4 separate regions of the Homo sapiens genome follow, and regions 2, 3 and 4 are each linked to region 1. The links are contacts of gene promoters, found by promoter capture Hi-C in blood cells and fetal thymus (Javierre and others, 2016). All regions are on one chromosome and are shown on one strand. Each heading gives the region's core, a stretch centred on a gene start or on the middle of the fragment in contact. The rest is flanking DNA. Distances are from core to core; before and after follow the strand shown. Region 1 holds the start of SP9 (Sp9 transcription factor). Region 2 overlaps OLA1 (Obg like ATPase 1). Region 3 overlaps OLA1 (Obg like ATPase 1). Region 4 overlaps OLA1 (Obg like ATPase 1).

Region 1 (2,729 bases), core at 40-2,539:
CGCCCTCCCGGGTGAAAGTCCTGGAGAGATTTCTCGGGCGCGTCCGTGAAAGCAGGGCACTAATGGGGAGCCTACCTCTTAAAACAGCGCACTTGCCCTACGGACGAGCCTCTAGGCCCTGGTGGTCTGGAATGGGAGTGGGTTGGAGCTGGGACAAGAAAACTCCACTCCAGGATGAAACGCGACATGCAAATCTTCACCGGGTTAAACAAACAGCCGAGCAAGCTGCAGCTTCAGCGGAGGTGGAGGTGGGGGCGGACGCCGCTCGCGCCGGTCTCTGTTTCCAAAGTTGTTACAGTGAGAAAATAAGCGGCTTCGTGCAGCGTGTTGTATGGGCTGATGCCTCCCACCCCCATGCCAGCCCACAGCAAAACCCGGCAGATAATCAGCACATCCCACTGTTTAGTCATATTTGACAACTGGGTTAACCTGGTATCTAAGCGCTGGCGAAACCGTACAAAGGGTGCCCTCAATTACCACCAGAAGCCTCTAGCGTGAGTGGCACTTGTATTACCCCCCGGGTCAGAGGCCAGAGCGACAATTAGGAAGTCACTTACACCGCTGGGGGGAAATGGCGGGATGCAGCAGGCTCCAGGCCCTCCCAACAAATCTGTGGATGTAGATCTGTACAGAGAGGCCTATTTCGCTCCTCTCGGAGGAGCTGTCCCTTCGCGCCCCCTCCCCAGTATAACTGTGAGAGTGAAATTGAATCTAGTGGAATAAGGAATTGGGTAGAAGACACACGAAAATGATAAAAATCACAAGCAAGAATGATAGATACAAGCTGAAGTTGTGTTCTGTAGGCAAAAGCCTGGACACACAAAGTGAGGGCTCACATTTCCGTCTCCACTTGGGCCCTGCTGGTGCGGGCTGTGTCTGGGTGTCTCCTCCCCTCCTGCCTCCTTTCCTACAAGTGGGGAGTCGAGTAGGACTGTCAGCCCTAACTTGCAACATCTCGGGGTGGTTTGTGTGTGGGGGGGTGCTTGTGGCTCGGTTTCATTGGTACTTAAACCTGGCTTGGTGCGTGAGTGTAAATTTTTAATTGCACTGTAATTTCTTCAGTCCCCAGCCCGCCCTCGCCCCCCCCCCGCAAGTATCCCCCACTACTCCCCCCCACCCCCGCGGCCCTAGCTAGCTGACTTGACTGGCACGCGCCGGGAGCCCGGGCTCGGGCCCCTCGGAGCGTCTGATTGGCTGCGGGGCAGCTCCGGTCTGCTCTGCCTGCGCCCTCATTGGGCGAGAGGCGCAGCCAGCGGCACTTCAAAGCGGGTGCTCCTCGCACTTAGGCTGAGTTTAGCCGGCGGGAGCCTGGAGTCCGCTCGGCACGAGCGCGGGGACGCGGGAGCCGCGCGGGACCCAAGCAGTTTTTCCGAGCAGCCGCCAGGCTCAGCCCCGCTCCCAGCCTCGCTGCGCAGCCAGAGACCTGCTATGGCCACGTCTATACTCGGGGTAAGTCGCAAGCGCGGCAACGCATTTGCTTGTTTTAACCGGAGTAATTTTTCGTTATGGCTTCTGGGGTCTGCGGCTCCGGAGAAACTGTTGCTGCTAGACTGCAGCTTCAGCTTCTATTAGCACTTTCCACATTTCTGGGACTGATTTTTCCCCAAGTTTTTGGAACCCAGAAAGATGCCTTTGCAAGAAAAGGCCTTCTTAATCAAGTCCTTTTTCATTTGGTTTCAAAAAAAAGCTAGAGGTTTCTTTTCTTCCCCTCGTGATTTATACCCCATCCCCCGCATTGCTTTGGGGATTTTGTTGCAATTATGCGACAATGGTGTTTCCAGAAAACAGTCTTAATCGTTTTGCAGTCCATCTAGTCACGCTAATAAACATTTACATTTCCGCGGCTCCCCAATTCGCCCATGACTTTGAAATCTGTCTCTGGCCGCTTATCCTCGGATTATTGTTTTCATAATCGCTGTTTTTGTGTGTATGTAAACTTTAAAACCAAACGTTTTCTATTAAAAAAGAAAAGTCAAGTCGTAGCCACCCTGGGAGAGCTGCAAGTTTCGCCCGTCCCTGGCAGCTGTTTCGGCCGCCTCCGCCCTCACCCGGTGTTTGTTGTCTCTGGTCTCTGTGTTTACCTTCGCGCTTCACCCCGAAGGGCGACTTGGGGTCTTCTGGGAGATGAGCCGGTTTACGGCGACAACCCAAGTCCGGTTGTAGGCAGGGTTGCAGCGGGGAACACGGAGGCATCTTTGATTTATAGCCTCAGCGAAGTGCAACTTTCCGGCGCCTGGACCTTCGCCCGGGTGATCGCCCCTGCTCCGCGCCCGGTGCGGCGACTCCTCCGCGGGCGCGTGGGGAGGAGGCGCGAGGCGGGGAGCCAGGACCCCCCGGGAGCAGCCGCAGGGGACGAGGCTGCTCACGGGTGCACTTTGTTTCTTCCCCCACTTCCTCTTGCCCTCCTCCTTCTTGCTCCCTCCCCCATCCCACCCACTCTAGGAAGAGCCGCGCTTCGGAACGACCCCGTTGGCCATGCTGGCGGCGACCTGCAACAAGATCGGCAACACGAGCCCGCTGACGACGCTGCCAGAGTCGAGCGCCTTCGCCAAAGGCGGCTTTCACCCCTGGAAGCGCTCCTCGTCCAGCTGCAACCTCGGCTCCAGCCTCTCGGGCTTCGCGGTGGCCACCGGGGGCCGTGGCTCGGGCGGCCTGGCGGGCGGCTCGGGCGCCGCCAACAGCGCCTTCTGCCTGGCCTCCACGTCGCCCACGTCGTCCGCCTTCAGCAG
Region 2 (2,960 bases), core at 397-2,896, 160 kb before region 1:
CCTTACCTCATGCCATATGCAAAATTAACTAGAAAGATGACAGGCCCGAATGTAAGAGCTAAAGTTATTTAAAATTAAACTTTAACAGAAGAAAATATCTGTAACACAGCGCTGGGTAAAGATTTCTGAACCGGACACAAAAAACACAAATATCAGAGAAAATCAACTGATAAAATGAACATCCTAATGAAAAATTTTGTTCTTTTAAAGACAGAATTAAAAAAAAAAAAAAGCCAGCCACAGACTAGGAGAAAATTTCATATAACATATACTTGACAAAGAACTTGTATCCAGTTCTTTGATACTGGATCAAAATAAGACAAACAATCCAATTAAAAATGGACAAAAGATTTAGACAGATACTTCACCAAAGAAGATATACAGTTTGGAAGTAAGCAAATGAAAAGATGGTCATCACTAATAGGCTGGAAAATAGAAATGAAAGCCACAATATTCTCTATAATGCCTAAACTAGAAACAATTGACAATATCAAGTGCTAGAAAGGATGTGGAGGAACTGGAACTCATATTGCTGGTGTGAAATCAAAATGTTACAGTCACTTTGGAAAACAGTATGGCAGTATTTTATAAAGCTAAACATACAGTTACCATACACTTCAGCTATCCCATTTCTAGATATTTACCCAAAAGAAATAGAAACATATATCCATACAAACATTTCTACACAAATAATTCGTAACAATAAAAACTGGAAACAATTCAAATGTCCACCAGTTAATGAATGGATAAGCAAAGTGATAATATTAAAGGCTACATAGTAATAAGAAAGTATTAACGTACACAATATGAATGAATATCAAAAACATTATGCTAGATCTAAAAAAAGTCAAACAGAAAAAACTACATACTATATGATACTACATGAAATTCTAAATATGATAAAAATGCAACAATAGAAAGCAGATCAGTGAGTACTTAAGCATAAGGGTTAGGGGAGAGGATCAACTGCAAAAGGACACAAATAAACATTTTAGGATGATTGAAACATTGTGTATTTTGACTGTGACAGTAGATCTACGACTGTGTACAATAAACTTCATCAAACTGTACACTAAGAATATATGATTTTTGTTACATGTATATTTTACCTTAATGATGTCTGGAGAAGACACCATACAGACAAACTTGATATACATACATTATCTTTGATAAGGTTTCATACTTGATTACTAAAGTTCAACATTATAGGCTGATATGAAATTAACTAAGATTGAATTTTACCTATTCTGAAATCTTAATATGGGAGAATAGCAGTTTATAATAATTTGCTGTTAAATGAATTTCAAAAATTATTTTGGCCTCAGGTTTCTGGAAATAAAAACAAAAGTTGATTTAATAAAAACAAAAATTGGAAAAAATATCAATTTAAAATACATGTCACAAATATGCATAATAAAAAACAATTTGAGGGGAACCAATTTGCTATAGGGGATTAATTACTTTCTACTTCTAATGATTTGGGGATTTTCCTAGACTCATTCTCAATGACCAGGGGCTTTTCTAAACTCCTTCTCAGGTGCCCCTGTGCTTATGCAAGAAGGCTCTTGAAATAGTACTCTAGGATATTAAAAGCTAAACATTTCACCGTGGTAAGGTCTTACACCTAGAGAGACAAAGAGCTCTTTACCACAAAAAAGTGGGAGGTATGGGGATGAATTAAAATAAAGTAAACAATGCATGTTTCTGCGAAAACTTTATTTTCAAAAAGAACCATTTTATTTTAGATGCTAAACTCATCAATTCAAAATTTTGTTTTCAAAAGATTCCCTCAATAAAGCAATTCATTTCTGTGCTATTTAGTTTGCTGTATTTTTACAAGCACCAGACTGAGCAAACCATGATTGAGAGAAGCCATCTTATGCACATTGCTGTTGTCCCACATCATTCAGAACAAACCTTTTTAGATCGTTAACTACCACAGGAGTGCTGATTACACAGGCACCAGCAATTTCCTAACCAATGACCACCTGAACAATGATGTGTTCAGCTTCTCAGACCCTGCAGCCTTTCAAAGGTGAATCATTTCACAGTTTGGAACTAGATCTCCATAGCAACTTCCCTTTGAGGGTTTTAGAATCACCATCCAGTAATTCTATGATCATCAAGCTCAACCATTCCCAATGGTTCTTTTCACAGCAGATGGAAAAGGAAGCCTTGAAATTTTACAGTCTATTTCAAGCAATTCATCTGGCAGCCTATTAGAATTCAAAATATTTCGACCTTCAATCACAAAGCATGTTATCTGAAGCTGTGGTGATCTCAAGTCAAGACAAGCAGACGTTTTAGTCTAATCATCCATGATGAGAAGAGACTGACAAAAACTCTTAATTCAACCACCATCAAAATGCTTATTTTAACTGCATGAAAGTCTTTCAACAGGCAATGAAAACATACCATGTGCCATTTTATCACAACCTTCTGTTCAAGGAAAATATGAATTCTGAATATTGACATGCATCTCTGCACTTCTTAGACTGCTTGGAACAAATATGTTTCTTAAAAGTTAGCATAAATCCAATTTAAGAGCACTATTATTCACTGCTGCAAAAGCTAGAAACCTTAAGCAAATAGCAATGGACTTTTGACAAAGTCAGCTAGCTTAATAAAATCAAGTACATTTGGATTTCTTAAATTTTTTTCAGACTTTTGACAAAGTCAGCCAGCTTAATAAAATCAAGTACATCTGGATTTCTTAAAGTTTTTCCAGACTTTTGACAAAGTCAGCCAGCTTAATAAAATCAAATACATTTGGATTTCTTAAATTTTTTTCAGATACAACCTAAAATGATTAATCAGAAAATTAATATCAACTCCTCAGGAAATTAATATCAATTAAAAGGAAAGAATAGATCTCAAAAAAAACTTAATTTACAAAAAGTTGTTGACTTTTCCCCAATTCAACTAATTCTCTAGTGATTTCAAAATATACTAGCCCTATT
Region 3 (2,798 bases), core at 109-2,608, 200 kb before region 1:
AGGCACACAGTAAATACTCAATAAATAATAATATTTATGGAGCTGGGCGCAGTGGCTCACGCCTGTAATCCCAGCACTTTGGGAGGCCGAGGCAGGCGGATCACGAGGTCAGGAGATCGATACCATCCTGGCTAACACAGTGAAACCCCGTCTCTACTAAAAATACAAAAAATTAGCCAGGTGTGGTGGCAGGTGCCTGTAGTCCCAGCTACTCGGGAGGCTGAGGCAGGAGAATGGTGTGAACCCGGGAGGCGGAGCTTGCAGTGAGCCAAGATGGTGCCACTGCACTCCAGCCTGGGCAACACAGCGAGACTCCGTCTCAATAAATAAATAAATAAATAAATAAATAAATAAATAAATAAATAATATTTATGGCAGAATGCATAATGTGATTCCATTTATGGTTTTGAAACTATATATAATATATATAAATAGACATACTCAAATAATGAAACTGGTTAGATAACACACTAAATAATTAGCAATAGAAATCTCTAGAAGGTTAGATGCCAGACAGCTTTTCCCTTTCTGCCTTCTTTTTAAAACTACAACATTTTAAAAAATTTTAACCAACAAATATCACTGTTATAATAGGAAAAAAATAAAGGTATATTCACAGGGTAAGGGGAGAGGGGAAACTTCATCTATTCTCTGTCCACCATCTGTAATCCTAAAATTTGATGGCTAAATGGATAGACTTGGTGGTTTATCAGGGTGACTCACTCTTATTCTGTAATAATTATAACTTCCAAGTTATACTTACCTTCAGGAAAACCTGTCACCACAATTCTAATGCTGATATCCAGATGAACTGACTTATGCTGGTTAGGTAGCTTTAACAAAGACAGCCAACAATGCACTCAGACTACAAGAATTAGGGCAAGGCTTCCGGTTCAAAACAGTCGCTAGAAGTCCACTAATACAGCATCCTCCAACTATTCCCTTTAAACACCCGAAATTGAAGAAAAAAAATCAAACTAAGCTTTCTCTTATAAAATAGACCTCCACTGTGTATTCTACTAATGATGTTTGGGATCTCTCTGAATCACAGTATTAAGCATTTGTTGCTCTACTAGATAAATGCTGCTATTTATGGAGGCAGGAGTACTGATCCCTGGACAACATCTTTCTATATACCTGAATGACTGAAACTCCCAGAAAAGGATTGGGCAATAATGAATGGAACTAGCAGTAATGCTCTACATGACTATGCGTGTATGGGGGTGAGGGGAACCCCCCAAGAATTAACACAATAGGCTAATTCTAGCAATAACCTTGGTAGAATACATGCTGCCAATTGTAGGCTTTCAGTTATATGATTCACTGAAGTAGATAGTAAGACCACCCCCAGAATATAATGTTCCTGGCCCCTGTCTGCAATAAAGTGGCAACCAAAATGGACACCAATTTACTTCTGAGGCATAGATCTCAGCAAAGGATCTGGCTATTAGTAAAGAGAAGAAGGCAACTGTCCCTATGATTCCTGAAAATAAGTTTGAATGCATTTTACCATGTTTGAGGAAGGGTCTGGAAGTTGTGGGGAAGCCAACAAATCTGATTTTAATAAAAGGAATACTGATAATTTATGGAAAGTAGAGTCATAGAAAAAACACATCTTTAAAAATGACTGAGAAACAAAAAAACCTCAATGAATTATTTGTCATACTTAGTAGAATGCAAAAAGATAAGAGCATCTACACAATAGGAGCAGATGAACTGACTTATGCTGGTTAGGAAGCTTTAACAAAGACAGCCAACAATGCACTCGAGGTCACAAAAAGAGAACAGTGAGGTTAGAAAAAAATGGATGAGATATATCTAGAGAGTTGATAAAAGTACAAATATTTTTAATGAAACCAAAATCAAAGTAGGAAAATAAATACATTCAGTATAACATATCTAAGTGCCCAAATGAACTACCAGAGAATGAACACGTCTGTAATTACCACCCTGATCAACATATAGAAGATTATTAGTAGTACAGTTACAATGTTCCACTCCTCTTCAGAGATAATCACTACTTCTGGCTTCTTTGCATCACAAATTAGCCTGTTATTGAAACTTATAGAAATAATCACACAATATATATTACTTTGCGTCTGGCTTCTTCTGCTCAATATTATTTGTGAATTCATCCATGTCATTCCATGTAGCAGTATTGTGTTTTTCTCTGTGGTATAATATTTCACTGTAGGAATAGTGCACAATTTATACATTCTACTGTTAATGGACATCTAGGCTGTTTACACTTTAAGGCTATTAGGAATAAAGTTGCTATAAACATTCTTGTACATATATTTTGGTAAATTTGTGCATGCATTTCTCTTGAGTATATACCTAAGACTGGAATTGCTTGGTTGTAGGTCAGGTATTTATCCAAACTTCATACATATTGCTAATAAATTTTCAAAAGCAGATGTACTAATTTATACTCCCATCAGCACTGTATGACAATTTCATTTGCTTCACATTCTTCCCAACACTTGGTATTGTCAGTCTTATTAATTTATGGCAAGTGTATGGTATCTCACCGTAGTCTGAATTTGCATTTCTGTGGTGATTAATGAGGAATTTCTTCTTTTGTGAAGTACTTGTGAAGTCTCTGCATATTTTTCTATCAGGCTGTCTTTTTCTTATTTATTTGTAGGAATTCTTTGTTAGATGCTGCAAATATCTTCTTTCTCTGAGGAATGGCCTTTTATGTTCATGAAAGAGATTCACCTATAATTTTTCTCTCTTACATTGTAAGATTTTGGTATCAGGACTATTCTGACCTCACACAAGTTTTTCCTCTTTTT
Region 4 (2,833 bases), core at 127-2,626, 220 kb before region 1:
CCAGTGCTGAGATACTATGGCTTAGCAGTTAGTGAGGAACATGAGCTCTGCAGATGAACTGCTTACAATTGGATGTCGGCACCACTGACTGGTTATGTAACTTTGGCCAAGTTCCTTAATCTCTCCATACTTGCTTTTCATTTCCTTAAAATGTGGGTAATAATGGCACCTACTTTACAAGCTTGTTGGGAATCTTAAATATAACTGGCATAAGGTCAAGTGTGAAGTGTTGACTGAATGACGACTACTACAAATACAACATTAGGCATACAAATTATCTGCCATTGCTCTACCTCATAGTGCTGTGGTTTGAATGTGCCCCCCAAGGTTCGTGTGTTAGGAATCCTAAGCCCCCAGTGCAATGGGATTGGGAAGTGGGACCTTTAAGAGGTGGCTAGGTCATGAGGGCTCACCCCTTATGAAGCAATTAATGCTGTAATCATGGGAGTAGGTTAGTTATTTCAGGAGTGGACTCCTGATACAGAGAATGAGTTTGACCCACTTTGCTCTCTGTCTCCCACTTGTTTCTGCCTTCTGCTCTTCTGCCATGGGATGACCCTCAGAAGATGCCAGTGACATACTCTCAGGCTTCCTGGGCTCCAGAACCATGAACCAAATAAATTTCTCTTCTTTATAAATTACCTAGTCTGTGGTATCTGTTACAGCAGCAGAAAACAAACTAACACGTGATATTCTCTCATTTCCCTATTTCTATAACATCAACTCCCTCACCCCATCACTGAAGAATTATTATTATTACTATTTTTGAGATGGAGATTCACTCTTGTTGCCCAGGCTGGAGTGCAATGGCATGATCTTGACTCACTGCAACCTCCATCTCCCAGGCTCAAGCGATTCTCCTGCCTCAGCCTCCCGAGTAGCTGGGATTACAGGTGCCCGCCACCAAGCCCAGCTAATTTTTTTGTATTTTTTAAGTAGAGATGGGGTTTCACCATGTCGGTCAGGTTGATCTCAAACTCCTGACCTCAGGTGATCCACCCTTCTCAACCTCCCAAAGTGCTGGGATTACAGGCTTAAGCCACTGTGCCCAGTCAAATAATTATTTTTAACAAATTATGGTTTGCTATAACAGAAAAAGTTAAATCCTGTTTATCATATCAATATATAAAAACCAATCTGTGGTTACAGGTATGTTTTTGGGGGGTTTATTCTGTACCACTATTTTAGACTTGGCAATTTCATATAATTTTTAATTTCGGTTTCAATAAGAGCCATTGTATTTTCTCCACCAAAATTTTTATACATGATATTGCGTAAAAATGCAAGCTAAGGTGGGTCCTAAAATATATTGCTGTTGCCTCTTAACAATGTTATTAAATAGTTAATAAAATTACGAGACAAGGCAAAAACAGCAGCAGCAAATGCTTATTATCCTAAAAAAAAACCCACAAATGTTGTCTTGAGAATTGTTCTTTTTAACTAAAATCCTAATTTAGTTTATTAACTAAACAATTGGATGGAGATTAAACTTTCTGAGATAAAACAAAGCAAAATGCTAAAGTTGCTGACGTGATATTTTCAAAGATTTCTGGAGATTCACAAACATATCTTGTACTGTCGCTTAGCTGTCAGTCATCCTGTGTGGAACAGTCGCATTCAGGTCAAATGGATCTATTTCTACCACTTACCTGCTCCAAGAACTTGGGCATGTTTTATAATCTTTCCAACCGCCTGCCCTATCTGTAAAATGGGCATGATAATATCTGCTTGATAAGTATAATATCATACATCTCAGCAATTTCCAAGCTCAGAATGCCCATCACATAGCAGGAACTCAACAATAAATAATGGTTTGCTATGTATGTCTTTTAGTTTGGTATAAGAAAAGCTAAATCGGCCGGGCGCGGTGGCTCATGCCTGTAATCCCAGCACTTTGGGAGGCTGAGACGGGCGGATCACGAGGTCAGGAGATCAAGACCATCCTGGCTAACACGGTGAAACCCTGTCTCTACTAAAAATACAAAAAAAAAAAAAAAAAAAAATTAGCCAGCCTGGTGGCGGGCGCCTGTAGTCCCAGCTACTCGGAAGGCTGAGACAGGAGAATGGCGTGAACCCGGGAGGAGGAGCTTGCAGTGGGCAGAGATCGCGCCACTGCACTCCAGCCTGGGCGACAGAGCAAGACTCCGCCTCAAAAAAAAAAAAAAAAAAAAAAAAAAAAAAAAGCTAAATCAATTATATTAAATGGAGGAAGCGGGGAAGCAGGACATACAAAAGAAAAATGACAAAACTTAAAAGTCATGTTTGAAAACTGCTAGTGACCTTCATGTTGGACATCCATATACGTTCCTGGGGAAAAATCTTTTAAAATTTCATTTAAAAAGGCTAAAAATGATTACCAATGAACAGATGCTATTTGATCTTTTCCTTTTAAATTTCAAAATGGATTAAATCCAACAACATTTCCCACAGCCCCATAATACATTCTTTTAAAAGAATCTCTAAGGAAAATGCTGATTATCACCCAGGAATACTGATGACTACCCCTTGATTTCAATGACAAATATTTAAAGTACTGAAAAGGCACTGCTAAATCTTTGCTAATGAAAAGACAAAGCTTATTTCTCTCTCTGTTGGAGTAACCCATTCCTAAACTAATATGCAGAACTCTTATTCCAATGATGCAAATGCTTCATTTTGGCCAGGTATAGTGGTTCACACCTGTAATCTCAGCACTTTGAGAGGCCAAGGCACGTGGATCGCTTGAGCCAAGGAGTTCTAGACCAGCCTGGGCAACATGGGAAACCCTGACTCTTACAAAAAATACAAAAACTAGCCAGGTGTGGTAGCCTGCGCCCGTCAGGGAGGTCCAGAC

What was found. The method cuts DNA at HindIII sites, captures the fragments that hold promoters and counts their contacts. A CHiCAGO score of 5 or more calls a contact.
Region 2: a fragment that was not itself captured here is called in contact with the fragment with the promoter of SP9 in region 1 in 1 of 17 cell types (M2 macrophages); the score reaches 6.5 in M2 macrophages.
Region 3: a contact is called between a fragment that was not itself captured here and the fragment with the promoter of SP9 in region 1, in 1 of 17 cell types (M2 macrophages). The highest score is 6.1, in M2 macrophages.
Region 4: a contact is called between a fragment that was not itself captured here and the fragment with the promoter of SP9 in region 1, in 1 of 17 cell types (M2 macrophages). The highest score is 5.2, in M2 macrophages.

The regions. Positions count from the first base shown.
Region 1 is chr2:174,333,665-174,336,393 of GRCh38, forward strand. SP9 (Sp9 transcription factor) reads left to right here and starts at 1,290. Exons shown (of 2, transcript NM_001145250.2): 1 at 1,290-1,449; 2 at 2,443-2,729. The coding sequence starts at 1,429. It overlaps LOC102724194 (a long non-coding RNA gene), which reads right to left and starts at 1,312. Exons shown (of 3, transcript XR_427194.5): 1 at 76-1,312. The HindIII fragment of the contact is 13,141 bases long and covers 1-2,729 here.
Region 2 is chr2:174,175,079-174,178,038 of GRCh38, forward strand. The region is part of intron 4 of OLA1 (Obg like ATPase 1); the gene reads right to left. Among named protein-coding and RNA genes, the nearest start is that of OLA1, 72 kb to the right of the region's middle. The HindIII fragment of the contact is 3,940 bases long and covers 1-2,960 here.
Region 3 is chr2:174,129,137-174,131,934 of GRCh38, forward strand. The region is part of intron 5 of OLA1 (Obg like ATPase 1); the gene reads right to left. Among named protein-coding and RNA genes, the nearest start is that of LINC01960, 110 kb to the left of the region's middle. The HindIII fragment of the contact is 756 bases long and covers 981-1,736 here.
Region 4 is chr2:174,112,191-174,115,023 of GRCh38, forward strand. The region is part of intron 7 of OLA1 (Obg like ATPase 1); the gene reads right to left. Among named protein-coding and RNA genes, the nearest start is that of LINC01960, 88 kb to the left of the region's middle. The HindIII fragment of the contact is 2,394 bases long and covers 180-2,573 here.